2 separate regions of the Homo sapiens genome follow, and region 1 is linked to region 2. The links are contacts of gene promoters, found by promoter capture Hi-C in blood cells and fetal thymus (Javierre and others, 2016). All regions are on one chromosome and are shown on one strand. The core of a region is centred on a gene start or on the middle of the fragment in contact, and the rest is flanking DNA. Distances in the headings are between cores, read along the strand shown.

What was found. The method cuts DNA at HindIII sites, captures the fragments that hold promoters and counts their contacts. A CHiCAGO score of 5 or more calls a contact.
Region 1: a fragment that was not itself captured here is called in contact with the fragment with the promoter of RNF138 in region 2 in 1 of 17 cell types (total CD4 T cells); the score reaches 6.2 in total CD4 T cells.

Annotation. Positions count from the first base shown.
Region 1 is chr18:51,190,031-51,196,451 of GRCh38, reverse strand. All of the region lies in intron 1 of MEX3C (mex-3 RNA binding family member C), which reads left to right. Among named protein-coding and RNA genes, the nearest start is that of MEX3C, 4.4 kb to the left of the region's middle. RefSeq lists enhancers at 468-517, 146-767 and a silencer at 1,459-1,753. The HindIII fragment of the contact is 2,119 bases long and covers 1,348-3,466 here.
Region 2 is chr18:32,089,972-32,096,759 of GRCh38, reverse strand. RNF138 (ring finger protein 138) reads right to left here and starts at 4,886. Exons shown (of 8, transcript NM_016271.5): 1 at 4,525-4,886; 2 at 3,874-4,060. The coding sequence starts at 3,983. It overlaps LOC124904278 (a long non-coding RNA gene), which reads left to right and starts at 4,815. Exons shown (of 2, transcript XR_007066327.1): 1 at 4,815-4,905; 2 at 5,258-5,485. It overlaps LOC124904366 (small nucleolar RNA U13), which reads right to left and starts at 2,256; the gene lies at 2,154-2,256. It also overlaps a transcript of RNF125 not described here. RefSeq lists a silencer at 4,048-4,467 and an enhancer at 5,138-5,187. The HindIII fragment of the contact is 10,157 bases long and covers 1-6,788 here.

The sequences.
Region 1 (6,421 bases), core at 1,158-3,657, about 19 Mb before region 2:
CGAAGGGGTCTGGGAGGAGCCGAGGGTCGACCAGATGTGAAGATGGGTCACCTTGCGAAAACCCACGCTTTTCCGCCCGTCTTGCCTGGTAAAAAGTGTGAAGTTTCTCGGGCGACCCAGTCCGGTGGTGTTCACGTTACTTGGGCTGTATTCGTGGAACACCAGGCTGGCGTGGCACCAGAAACCTCAGTGAGGTGGTAAAAGGTCGGGCTCGAGGAGTTGTGGGTTCGCTGTTGGGTACGGAAAGCTTCGAGATTGCAAGTTTGCGCCGCCGAGTGTCTTCTAAAAGCGTTCAGCCTCCCTTACAAGAACTTGTTCAGATGGAGAAAAGAACAGAAATGGAGGCCTGTAGACAGAGCTCACTGGGGAGGGAAGGGGTGTTCAAATGGTCGGTATCACCGCCATCCCCTGCCCCTCCGCTGTTGAGAAACTTAGCTTTGGAAAAGCAGCCCAACTCACTGCCGCCTATCTTAACTGTATTTCTCTCGGTACGTTTCAACTCTCGGAAAGACACACTGACACACTGGCTGTCTTTTAAAACTGTTCAGTGTGCAGGATGAAGAAAAAATGGACACTAAGGTAATTAAGAAACTTCATCGGTTTATACAGTTTTCAGTTAATTCTCCTCTTCACTTGCCAGCACACCAGTACTGCAGACAGACTCCTCCCACATTGTTCAGACAAAGGACCTGTGTCTCAGATTCCAGGAGTAGATTTGTGAAGGTGGGGGAAGGGGATGCCTGGGGTACCTCTGTATCCGACATTTTTAGGGAAGGTCCTAAGTTCTTTATGGTAGCATTTCCCCTTTATGAAAGGGGCAGATGTTACCTGCTGCCACCGCATGACAATGTGGTTTAGCCTGGTTGTTGCATGCCTCTTTACTGTTAGGTTGAGAGCATTGTTGGGGTCAAATAAAGAGAGATGATGGCGCTGCCGCTTAAATGATCTCATCTTTCCCAGGTGGTCTAAAGTACACATAAATAAGAGCTCTGTCGAAATGGTGGTTTCACATATCAGACTTGGCTTATTTCTTTCCTATCTGTAGGATTTTAATAAAAACTCATCTGAAATCTGGATAAAGGAGATAGCTTAGTTCAGACTGCCTGATGATTGGCACTTACAGACACTGTTCAAAGCTGGACCTTTCAATTGAAAGGTAGCTTATGCTTGTCGTTCTTCTGGTTAATGAGTTTCAGATTCCTGGATTGTTTGGTTTTGGCGATACTTAGAGTAATAATCCAGGAGAAAACTTTTGTTTACATGGGATAAAATTACAACATCTCAATTTGGATCAGAATGAGTTGACCATTCATGTAAGAACACTGAGGAATCGCTATGTACCAAGCTTGTATTTTGCCAGGTTTTGAGTTTGTGGTATTGAGAATGTGAAGTTAATTCAGACTTTCTGCCCTTAAGAAGATAACAGTCTAATAAACAGTAGAATGGCACTAACTATAGTGTATTTAGTATGACAAAGTCTCAGGTAAGAGAACATCTATGGAGAGGGCCTTGGAAAATGGGTAGGAAGGAGTCTAACAAATGGAGATTGAAAAACTGTGGAGGAACAATGTGAGGAGGGGTGTGGAGGACTAGCCTAGGTATAATTGCCAAGTAGTGTTGTTTTGATACTTGAGGTCTGTAAAGGGGAGTGGTGGAAAAGGGGGAAGGCAGGCGTTCACACCAGAATGTGAAGAAGCCTGAATGCCATATGAAGATGCCACTTCTCAGGACAAGTTGCTTCCGTGTGCTTATGGTAACAGTCTAGGGTAACAAAGGAAGAAAACATTTACGTGCCAGTTTTACTGAAGGACAAGATAACATATTTTATAGATTTAGTTTAATACAAACTTTAGTCCTTCATTATAGTAGACACCCCTTAAAGCACTGCTAAATGGCCCTTACTTGTGTATGTTGTTAATCTTTATAGAAATCAGTTTTTTAAAAGTAAAGTGAATTCCAAGTTTTTATTTTGTACCAGCTATTACGTGATAGGAAATGAGATAAAGCCTTAGTTTTTCTTTTGAGGGCTGTGTTTATTTGGTTAATAAGGAAATGTTGAATTTAATTATGTCTTAGATCATGGAGACAAATTGCTGGCTCTTCCATTTAAACCTTGTATTTTCCCAGAGTTGACAATACTGTTAAAAGTATGTCATCATCCTCTATCTTAAAAGCAGAAAATCTGGTCCTTTTGCTGTTCTGAACCATACAACTTGTGGATCATTGACCCCTTTGCCACCCCCATGTCCCAGCAGCATAGTAATAAACCTGTAAAGTGTTTGCTCACTCGTATGGAGAACGAAGTGACTTCTAATGTTCACATTCTTTTACAGTATTATATTTCCCCACGGGAGAGAATCTGTCCTAAGTAAGTAAAACAGGGCAAATCATTTCATTTTCTTGTTTGCTTTGAAGGAGCTAAACTTTCATCCTTAAGATTAAATTATCCATTTCTGCCATTTTATGTATTACCTGAAGCCATAATTTTCTATTTGACATCTCTTAATTGATTTTGGAAATAATTATGTCACAGATGGAGACATTTATGACTTCAGCTCTGAAGCAAAGAGCAGGACAAATGGAATTCTGAGTCACATAGACTAGCAACTCATGTAGATGGCCTCTGAGTTCCAGTGTTTTTCTAAAACACAAACTACCGCTTTTGATACTGATGAAAGTTGGCAGAGTGTTTGACCTCGAATTTATACTCCCCAGTAGCATATGGTCATTTGTAAATGTTAAATTGGCCTTGTTTTTTAAAGCATTGCATCTGTTGTGAAACAACAATACTGTAAAATAAAGCCAGGAACTGAAGAGGCTTGTTGATATAATCAAAGAAGTTTTAGAATATGGACATCAAAAATAAACCTGACAACAGATTTTAAGACCTAATTTTATAAACTTAGAACGTCTCTGTTTTTAAGTATAGTACCTGCAAGACATATTAACAGTGATTAACAGGTCTAATTTTAGTCAGCAGGTTTTGTTCCAATTTGTACAGTCATTTATATCCATTTAGACTAAAAAGTGAATTAAAATAGAACTGTATACCCATTCTTAATACATTATAAATTAATACTAAATGTCATAAATTCAGTTGTTTAGAGACTTGTAACCCAAGATTTTGTATTACTATTAGGATAAATGTGTATCTTTCATTAGACTTTAATTAATGGTCTATGTGTGTTCTCTAGCCACATAGTCTAGAAAAGTCGTCTCTAGCTTCTTTTTATTGTACACCCTGTCCAAAAAAAATGTGCATACTCCCAATATCTGGATATTTATGTATGAATAGTAAGTGTGCTTAATATATTACACATTATAAAACAAAATTCTTTATTAACAATTAATACTTTACACTGTTTCAATTTGTCTTCCCAATTTCTTAGGGTGGAACCACCCTTCAAGCTCTAACACAACTGAAATAGGGTTTATACGTCTGTGACCAGGAGAAAAAGAGAAAGCTTGGTCTTGCTGTACATAAATTTTCTCTTCAAGGAGAAGTACATATTTCATGAGAATAAATAGTTTCAGAATGATGCTACAGCACAGTGTCTTTTTCTTTTATGGGGATGAGGGTGCATTGTTGGACTTCTCTTTGCTTAGTACTATGTTAGGTGCTTCACCAGTGCCGTTTAACCCTGCTAGGTGGTTACTGCCGTTTAGAGAGGTAGAAACAGAGGTTCTGAGAGCTAACTTGCTCAAATAGTTGAGATTGGATTTAGCATAGTTTGACATCAGAAATAAAATTCTTTGTACTCTACATTGCCACTTCAGTATTGAAGCATTCTGCTCTGGAAGGTTAGTATTTTGGATTAACTTGTGCCCTAATCGTAGGATACTGAATTTCTAATATGCATAATTTAAAATACCACTATCCAAATTAGTTTACTTGATAAAATTTTGGTGTCTGTACTACCCACAAGGCACAGTTTTAATTGTAATATAGTTCTAATGTGTCCAGCTAAAAATTTACTGTCATTTGTAGTACAGAAAGTTAATTTGCGTATATATATAGACACTAGCTTTAAAAATTAAATATTACAATTTTTCTAGGCTTTAAAATTTAAATTTCGTTAATAATGGTTTGTATTAGTTCTGGGACCCTTGAGAAGGGTTCAGTTACTGTAATTGTTTTTGCAAATGGGTGGGGAATCTACTGCCTTTCTTCCTGCCTTATTCAGCTAATGAACTATTCTGATTCACTAGGGAGGAAATGGGAAATGAAGTGGTAATTCAAGGGTGTATTTTGTACCCCTTGGTTACCAACAACCTGAAAATGATCCAGGGAACCAAGTATTTGTGTTAGTCTGTTAGAGATTTCTATCTAGAAAATTTTCAAACAATGTTTATAGGTTGGAATTCTAGGTGGTTCTTTACAGCGTAAGTTTTTAAGGAAAGGTAGCATTTAGTTATAAGGGAATGCTTAATATATTGCTGATTTGGTTTTGAATACTTTTGCCTTAAACATAAAAATGTTTTAGTATGTGTATTTTAATATCGTAGCTTATACAATATGTAAAAATACCTATTGTAGCTACACCAAACTGCCTGTGACAGTCTCTGTTCAGCTGTGGTATATTGGAAAGAACCAAATCAGAAATAGATATTCCTGTGCCAATAACTCACTGTGTAATCTTGAACAAGTCACTTAAACTCCCTAGGCTTCAGATTCCTCTTTTGCACCTGGGCATAATCATATCTACAATTCCTGTAGAGACTCTGGAAGATAAAGAAATCGACATATATGAAACTGTAAGTGCTAAGCACATTACTTTTGTTAAGGTAAATCTGAAATTAATTTGGAACCACCGTTTAATCATGTCCACCTTTTTTGGCTTTAGCAGATAGTTTGACTCATTATATTCTTCCAATGTAATAGAACTAGAACCAACGGATATCTGAATGCCTTTTAGATACTTGGCACTTCTGTCAAGATGGGCTTGTTATGCTGTGGTTAACAAAGAACTCTGACACCTCAGTGTTAAAACAACTATGGTTTATTTCTTGTTCATAGGGGCTCTGCTCATTTTAGTCATTCAGGGACACAGGCCAACAGCAGCCACCATCTCCAGTGTTACTGATCTTCTGTTGTGCCAGAAGATGAAAGACTACAGCATAGCACATACTGGTCTTAAAATGTTAGATCCGGAAGTAATGCTTATCACATCTGCTCATATTTCATTAAAGCAAATCATCTGGCCACACCTAACTTCAAAAGGCTGAGAAAGTATATGACAACTATGTGCCCACAAGGAGAGCCATGATGACTACTACAGTACTATTTTATAATTTATAGGATTGTTATAGAATTCTAAACAGTGTCATTCCTGCCATGTAGAATTTGTAACCAAACTCAAGATGAGAAAGTAGATAATGTTCATAAGATACTAAAGGAGTGTATTTGCACTTAAAAATAAAAAAAGCTTTTTAAGAAGCTCCAAGTAGATCATGGATAGTTATGTTTAAATCTCCATTGATATTCAGGTGATCCTTAAGTGATACCTTTTTTATTAAACTGCATTCTTAATGCTTCCCAAGTAGCTTATATGCCATAATTTGTGGATTTACTTTTAACATTTTCCCCATGCTACCATTAGTTACTATATAGAGACTTACAAAGATTAAATCTGATATTTAAGCCTTGAAAATAATTTTCTAATGTTAGGATTACCAAACCCAGATATACTAAATTGAATGTATGCATAGTCTAATACTGTTTGAGTAGTTCAAGTCTTTATTCTATAACTGACTTTGAGAATTTTAAGTTACACTAACTATAGGACCTCTTCCATGCCAGTGTTTGAGATGTAAGGACACTTCAAGTGTTTGTTGCCCTTGTCCGGTAAGTACGGACTACAATTCCTCATTGCATGCAGAGAAGCCTGGTTTGGTCACAAGTAAAGTCTATCATGGAATAATAAGACTAAGCCTTAAAATAATAAAAGAAAATCCTTTAATGAAAACTGCAGATGTAGTTGAAGGTAAGCATAAGTAATTTGGTCTTGAACATGATTGAAGGGGAAGTGGGGAGGGAATGGCTTCAAACAACTAGAAAAGATCTCCCAAAATGGTTACCAATGTAAAAGTATATATTTGCATTTGGGGCTGACCTTTTTATTATTATTTCCCTTCTCTGTGCCTCCCTTTCCCTTTGCCTTCTCTTCTGCCTTTCTACCAGTGCCATTTAGTATAATGCAGGAAAGGACATTGGACTTGGAGTTAGAAACCTTGTGTTTTGCACTTGCTGCCTGTGACCTTGGATAAATCACTTAACCTCTCTGAGCCTGTTTTCTCTTCTGGAAAAAACCTACTTCATCTACTTGTTCTTCCAGGTTTCTCTCTCCCCTCTCCCTCATTTGTTGTGAGGATCAAGTCTGAGAAGATAGCATTAGTAGAAATTGACAGTACAATTGAAAGT
Region 2 (6,788 bases), core at 3,637-6,136:
ACCCTATTTCAAAAAAAACAAAAACAAAAACAAAATTACATCTGACCACTCTAAGGCCTCTGAAAATGCTGACTGCTTCCTTAACAATCATTTGCAGATGATCTGAATCCTCAGTTTCCACTCTCACTTTATTCCTGGTTTTCTTCCTATCCTTCTGTTCGTTCCTTGTCTGGCTGCAATTTTCTCCACTCGATATTTAAGTAAGTATTCTCCAACACTTGGCTCTATCTAGGTGCTCTTCAATCTTTCCATTTATATACCTCACTCGGTGACCACTTCGACACCCACAGCTTTAGCTCCATGTATTCCAGATCTACATATGGTATACACACTTAACTACTGAACCCAGTCATCAAATCTTACACTGTCCTTAAAATGTCAGGAGTCTCTCTGCTCCATTCCTACTATCATTTCCTTAGTTCAGGTTCTAATCATTTCTCTCCCTGACACATCAATGAATGACCGACCTCTTCACTAGTCTCACCACTACCAAGCTGAAAACCCTGCTATGAAGGTAAACTTTCTAAAAATGAAATGTGACCACGCTGCTCCCCTGCCAAAAATTATTTACTAGGTCTAGTATTATTCATTAGGTTATCTAATTATTTAATAGGTTTTCAGGAAAACACTCAAATTAGCTTACACAGTAAGTTCCTGCCAATAACGCTAAGCTCCATCTCCACTACGCTGTCTTTGGCTCCAGCCAAACTTCAAAGTCCAGCTCACATTCATCCTCTGTACCCTCCTTGACTCTGGCATTCCCCACAAACACTGAATACAAACGCTGACCTAAGGCATTACTTCATCTAGGAAATTATCCCTATCCTTTAGGCTAATTTAGATACCTGCTCTAGATGCTCACATAAAATCTCTTCTATATCAATCACACTCATTTATAGGTCTCTCCAGCGGACTATTAAGTCTCCAGAGAAACAGTACTTAGTAGTCCCTGCACCAGACAAAGAGCATTCAACAACTGCAGTTTCAGGGAATGAATGGGGATTAAACGGGAGTTTATATTTTAGTAATGTTATTCTAATGATAATGAACTTGCTCCTTTTACTAGGATAGTCAGTAGTCAAATCCTTTCCTGTCATTGAAATGGCAATTAAAATTTTTCATTTTCTAACTGATCCACAGTAACCCAAAGCCCTTATCACTTCAACTCTCTATTCGTGAATCAAAAATTGATTTTGCAGCCAAATATAAATTTCTTTAAAGGCATAGGTCTGTCCTTTGTGAAGAAGGTAGAGCAAATGACATAGATAACTATGTTAATTAAAAAACAGGTCAGGTGCCATGCCTCACGCCTGTCATCCCAGCACTTTTGGAGGCCAAGACAGGAGGATGACTTCAGCCCAGGAGTTCAAGATCTGACTGGGCAACGTAGTGAGGCCCTGTCTCTATAAAAAAGAAAACAAAATTAGTCAGGCATGGAGGCATGCTCCTGTAGTCCCAGCAACTTGAGAGGCTGAGGCGGGAGGGTTGCTCCAACGGGGGAGGTCAAGGCTGCAATGAAACATGATCACACCACTGCACTCCACCCTGGACAACAGAATAAGACCATGTCTCAAAAAAAAACGATAATTTTTAAAATTTCTCTCCAATTCCCCCACTAAACTCCTTCCAACTGATTAAAATCCTGTTCCTCCATTACCACCTCTTCCAAATTAAACTTTTTTTCTCCCTCTGCCTATTCTTTTAATTCATTGTTCAGGCAGAACTGTCTACGTACAATAAGTTGATTTGAGAAAGGTCCTGAATTAAAAACAATCATCTCCAACATTTTCCACAGTCTTGAGGTCAAATCAAATTATAAACCTTGATTTAAAATGTCCCACAAGGGAAGCGGACTAGAGCAATCTACACGGAATTTTGGGGAGTGCTAAAAACTACAATGAGGCCCATTAGGTCAATGACCCAAAGGATAATTAGAATGATTCTATCCAAAAAAGACCTGCTTTATATATATATATATAGTTAGCAGCTATTACAACTTCCTCTCACCTTGCTCTCCTCCCTCCCTTTTATCTACCCAATGCCAACACAGCACTTAAATTTTTTTTAAATATTGGAAAGGGACCAAGTTATGCTAGATTAAAGGTGGAAGATCTATATTGTGCCCTAGACACCTCCAAACGTTTTTTTTTTCATGTCAGATGGGTAATGTGCTGACCCTGTAACAAGGTTTGAGGATGGCATATCTCACACATGCCTGTGAACACTCAATCATCACACTATGAACCGCAAAAGGATCCCTCAAAACATTTCCCTAAGAATCTGCATTTGTTGCACAAAATAACAAGATGTCATTCATCTCCCTTAAAGAGCAAAAGCGTAACTGGCATAATTTCTATCATGAAAATCCACACACTCTTGGCTCACACAACCAGCACAAAATAGAAATAAAGTAGACAGTGCAGTTAAGATTGGGGAAAAAATGAGAAGAGTTGGTATCAAGAAAACAGCCACAGTAAGGGCATTTGCAATTAAGAACCAAAAATTCAATCCATCCTTTACAAAATTATAGAACCTCACCTCAAAAAAAAAAGAAAAAAAAGTCGAAGGAGAATGAAATACATTTAGAAGGTTGGTCAATTCTTTTCAGTTGTTTGCAAACACACGTAACTTTCAAGCCTGAGTGTGTTTTTTAAAAATAAAGATTTCCGGGCGGGGCGCGGTGGCTCACGCCTTTAATCCCAGCACTTTGGGAGGCCGAGGCGGGAGGATCACGAGGTCAGGAGATCGAGACCATCCTTGCTAACACGGTGAAACCCCGTCTCTACTAAAAAAAAATACAATAAATAAATAAATAAAGATTTCCAGGCCCCACCTGCCCGAACATTCTTTTGTTAAGTTTGAAATGGAGCCTGGGAATTGGTATGTTTACTTAAAAAGTTCCCCGGGGACTCTGATCATCAGTCAGGTCTGTCAGAAGGGCTATACACCTTCTCAACAAGGGCTCTTTCCAACCCTTACTCACACCCTAGCTGTCCATAAAATTTTATCAAAGTTCTTGTAAATATGCCTGCCAATCAAACGCATGCGTTATCTCACCCAACCCCTTTGTGTTCTCCCCCACCCTGGGTAGCATCTCAATTTCGGCTCATTCCTCATAACAGAAGTCTTCCTTTCTCCTCTCCACCCTTGTATTAATCAAGTAATAAGTAAGCAGAAAGGTAAAACAAAGGGGAACGCTCATTTCAATGCCCGAAAATCCTGTCAGTTTTAAGAGACCAGAGAAGAAAACTCATTCTAGATCCCTCTAACACATAGTGGACTGGAAACGAAACAAAACGCTCTCGAGGGTGTTCTGTGAAGCAGGGTTGAGGGGAAGTTACAGAAGAGCTCTTGGACCGAGGGGACGGACCAAGGTTCTGAAAGAGGAAACTTGAAAGCAGGGCAGGTCGCGGGGCGAGCGGGCCCGCGCGAGCACCGCCGGCCGCTTTTGACACTCGACACCCCAGCCTTCACCCGGGTTGCTAAGAAACAAAAAGGCTCCAAGATCCCTGCAATTCCTCCCGGGCCTGGCGGAGACGACAGGGGCCTCCGGGGCCTGAAGACGCCGCAGGGAACGGCCTGGCCACTGCCCCGGGGGCGCGAAAGCCAGGGAGAGCGGGAGAGCGGGAGAGCGGGAGAGCGGGAGAGCGGGAGCTTGGGCTGAGGGGGCTGGACGCGGGGAGCGGGCCCCGAGGCTGAGGAAAAGGCCGCCCCGGGACTCTGAGGGGCGGGGAACGGGACCTCGCGGGGCAGCGACGCTCGGGCAGGCCGCGGCGGGCTCGGTTCCCGCCAGGCGGCAGCCCGGGGTCCCGGGCCGGAGGCCGGGCCTAAGCGACAACCCGGCTCCGCGAGGGGGAGGGGGCGTCTACTCACACGTGCTGACAGGCCGTGGTCCGCACGGGCGTTTTGAGCACCTCCTGACAGACGGGGCAGTAGAAATCATCTTCGGTGTAGGACGTGGCCGCAGAGAGGTCCTCGGCCATGGCGGGGGATGGGGAAACAAGGCGATGGCGACAGCGGCAGCGGCCGAGGTGACGGTGGCGGCCCGGGGCCCGACTCCCTACATGAACCCGGAGGGGGGAGGGGGATCGCATCAGGATACAGCGCGCGCCAGGAAGGGGGCGGGGCCCTGGGTAGGGCGGGGCCGAACGCAGAGACGCTACTGCCGCACGCGCCGGGCAAGAGGCGACCCCTCCCACGGCTCCTCCCACAGGGGGCTGGATGGGGGACGGTGCTTGGCGGGAGGCTGGGCTCGCAGCATGCCGTGGGCCCGCCCCGCTCGCCCCTCACCCCGCCCCAGGACGCGGCCTCACGCTCTAGGCCACGCCCTCACCGGGCTCCAGGCGCGGGCTCGCGCCCCGCCCTCAGCCCCCGTCTTCGCCCAAGGCCTCCCTTTTCACTGCTTTTCCGCCTCTACTCACCCCGACCCCGAGCCCCGAGTGCCCAGCCCGTGTCCGCGGCTTCCTCCCCGCCCCGCTTCCCGGCACCCCGGCCCCTCCACGCTTCCGCCGGGGAGACTCTCACCTAGGAGCCCCGAAGCGGCGTTGTGGACGGAGCTGCTTTTCCTTCACGTGTTCGTAGAGACCCGGCCCAGCGCTTTCCTCGAGCTTCCTGTCCGGCCGCCGCTATCTTCGCAGCCGAGGCCCCGGGGCAAATGGAGGGCGGCGTGCGCTGTGCTTATCGGCCCCTAACGGGGCCGGAGCCGAGGCTCATGGTGCAGGGAGATTCGCCCGCCGCCGCCAGCAGCTCTGTCTTGGCATTGCGCTGCCTACAGCCTACCCGGCCGTCACCGAACGCGGGAGCGCCGGGGATCTGGGCGGAGGAGCCAGGAGAGGCGGGGAGGCACGGGGTGTGAAGTGCGGCCTGTATAGCAACCGGCGCACGGCGCCTTCCGCGGGTTGTGACGTAAGCAGCTGGGCGCCCGCGGTGACACCTGCGCCTCCCCGCCCCGCCTCGCTAGGCCCGGGACCCCAGTTACCTCTCCTGTCAAATACATTGGGCCTTTCAGGAAGTTTTCGTCAATGTTCAAGATTTAGTCTTTACTATTTGCCCTACCAGAATGTTTTGATCTTGTCAAGATGTGTTATAAACAAATATTTGTTACGGGATTTTAATCCTTTGGGGGCAGGATTAAAGTTTCCTTGAGAGGATGTCCACTTTCTCCTTTAACAGCATGACCGATGCTTAAATACGGTCGCAGATGCAGTCTTCTACTACACCTTTGGGTTGATTTTTGATTTTTTCTTTTTTTTTTTAGCTTTGAAGAGAAATGCCGTAGAAGCATGGACGTGGCTTTTCACCAAGGTTATTCACTAATTTAAGTGTTTTTTTTAATTTTATTTTATTTTATTTTATTTTTTGAGACAGGTACTCACTCTGTCTCCCAGGCCGGAGTGCAATTATCTGTACAATTGATAATCTATAAGATGGTCCAACCTGCGTAACAGAGTGAGATTCCGTCTCAAAAAAAAAAAAAAAAAAGAAAGAAAAAAGGCCGGGCGCGGTGGCTCACACCTGTAATCCCAGCCCTTTGGTAAGCGAAGGCGGTTGGATCACTTGAGGTCAGGAGTTCAAGACCAGCCTGGCCAACGTGATGAAATCCCATCTCTACTAAAAATACAAAAATTAACCGGACATGGTGGTGGGAGCCTGTAATCCCAGGTACTCGGGAGGCTGAGGCACGAGAATCGCTTGTACCCGGGAGGCAGAGGTTGCAGTGAGCCGCGATCGCGCCGCTGCACTCCAGCCCTGGCGACAGAGTGAGACTCTCAAAAAAAAAGAAGAACAAAAAAAGGATAAATCGATAAGATGGGATCCACAATGACGTGAAAGAAGCTAAGGAAAATCTGGAACATTATACAGCATCTACAATTAGCTTCAGAGAAAAGAAAGGTTTTATTACCATCCTTTGTTAAAACCCTCCCCCATGGTCTAAATGAATAAACAGAAGCCATTTAAGGGACTATTTAAATCAATTCTGCCATTTATTGTCTATGTTGACATTGGCATTGTTAGGTGTTATGCAGATGTCATGAACTTTGCTCTCAACCTGTTTACATTATTACATATCTATCAGAATGAGAGAGAAAAAATGGTATTTGCCAAAGTATTAAATTTTGCATTAAACGATGGCTATAATGAGGATAGGAAATGGAATGATTAGAAATATATAGAGTTAACAGAAAACTTTATGGAGGAAATGGGTTTTAATGTACATCTCAAAAGCATTGATTCCTAGAATAATAATAATTTGTCCAATGAATAGCTAATTCCCTCTACCAAACTATATTTTGTATTTTTGTTGCTTTTCCTCCTTAGCAGCAAGCGCAGTGGAAGCAAGACAAGAAAGCTAATACTAGCTTCAGATTTCCTGGAAGGAGGAAGAGCACGTGACGAGAGGGGCAGCTAATAGCAGTAGTTCAGGTGCTTTTCACATTCACTTATAAAATGGTTCTTTGAGTTCAAATTTTTAACAGCCCAGAGAAGAAAACTCACTTTTTTTCTTTTTTCTTTTGAGACAGAATCTCACTCTGTCACCCAGGCTGGGGTGCAGTGGAATGATCTCAGCTCACTTCAACCTGCGCCTTCCAGGTTGAAGCAACTCTCCTGCCTCAGCCTCCCAAGTAGCTGAGATTACAGGCATGCACCACCATGCCAAACTAATTTTTGCATTTTTAGTAGAGACAGGGTTTTGCCATGTTGGCCAGGCTAGTCTCGAACTCCTGGCCTCCAGCGATCCGCCCACCTTGGCCTCCCAAAGTGCTGGAATTACAGGCCTGAGCCACTGT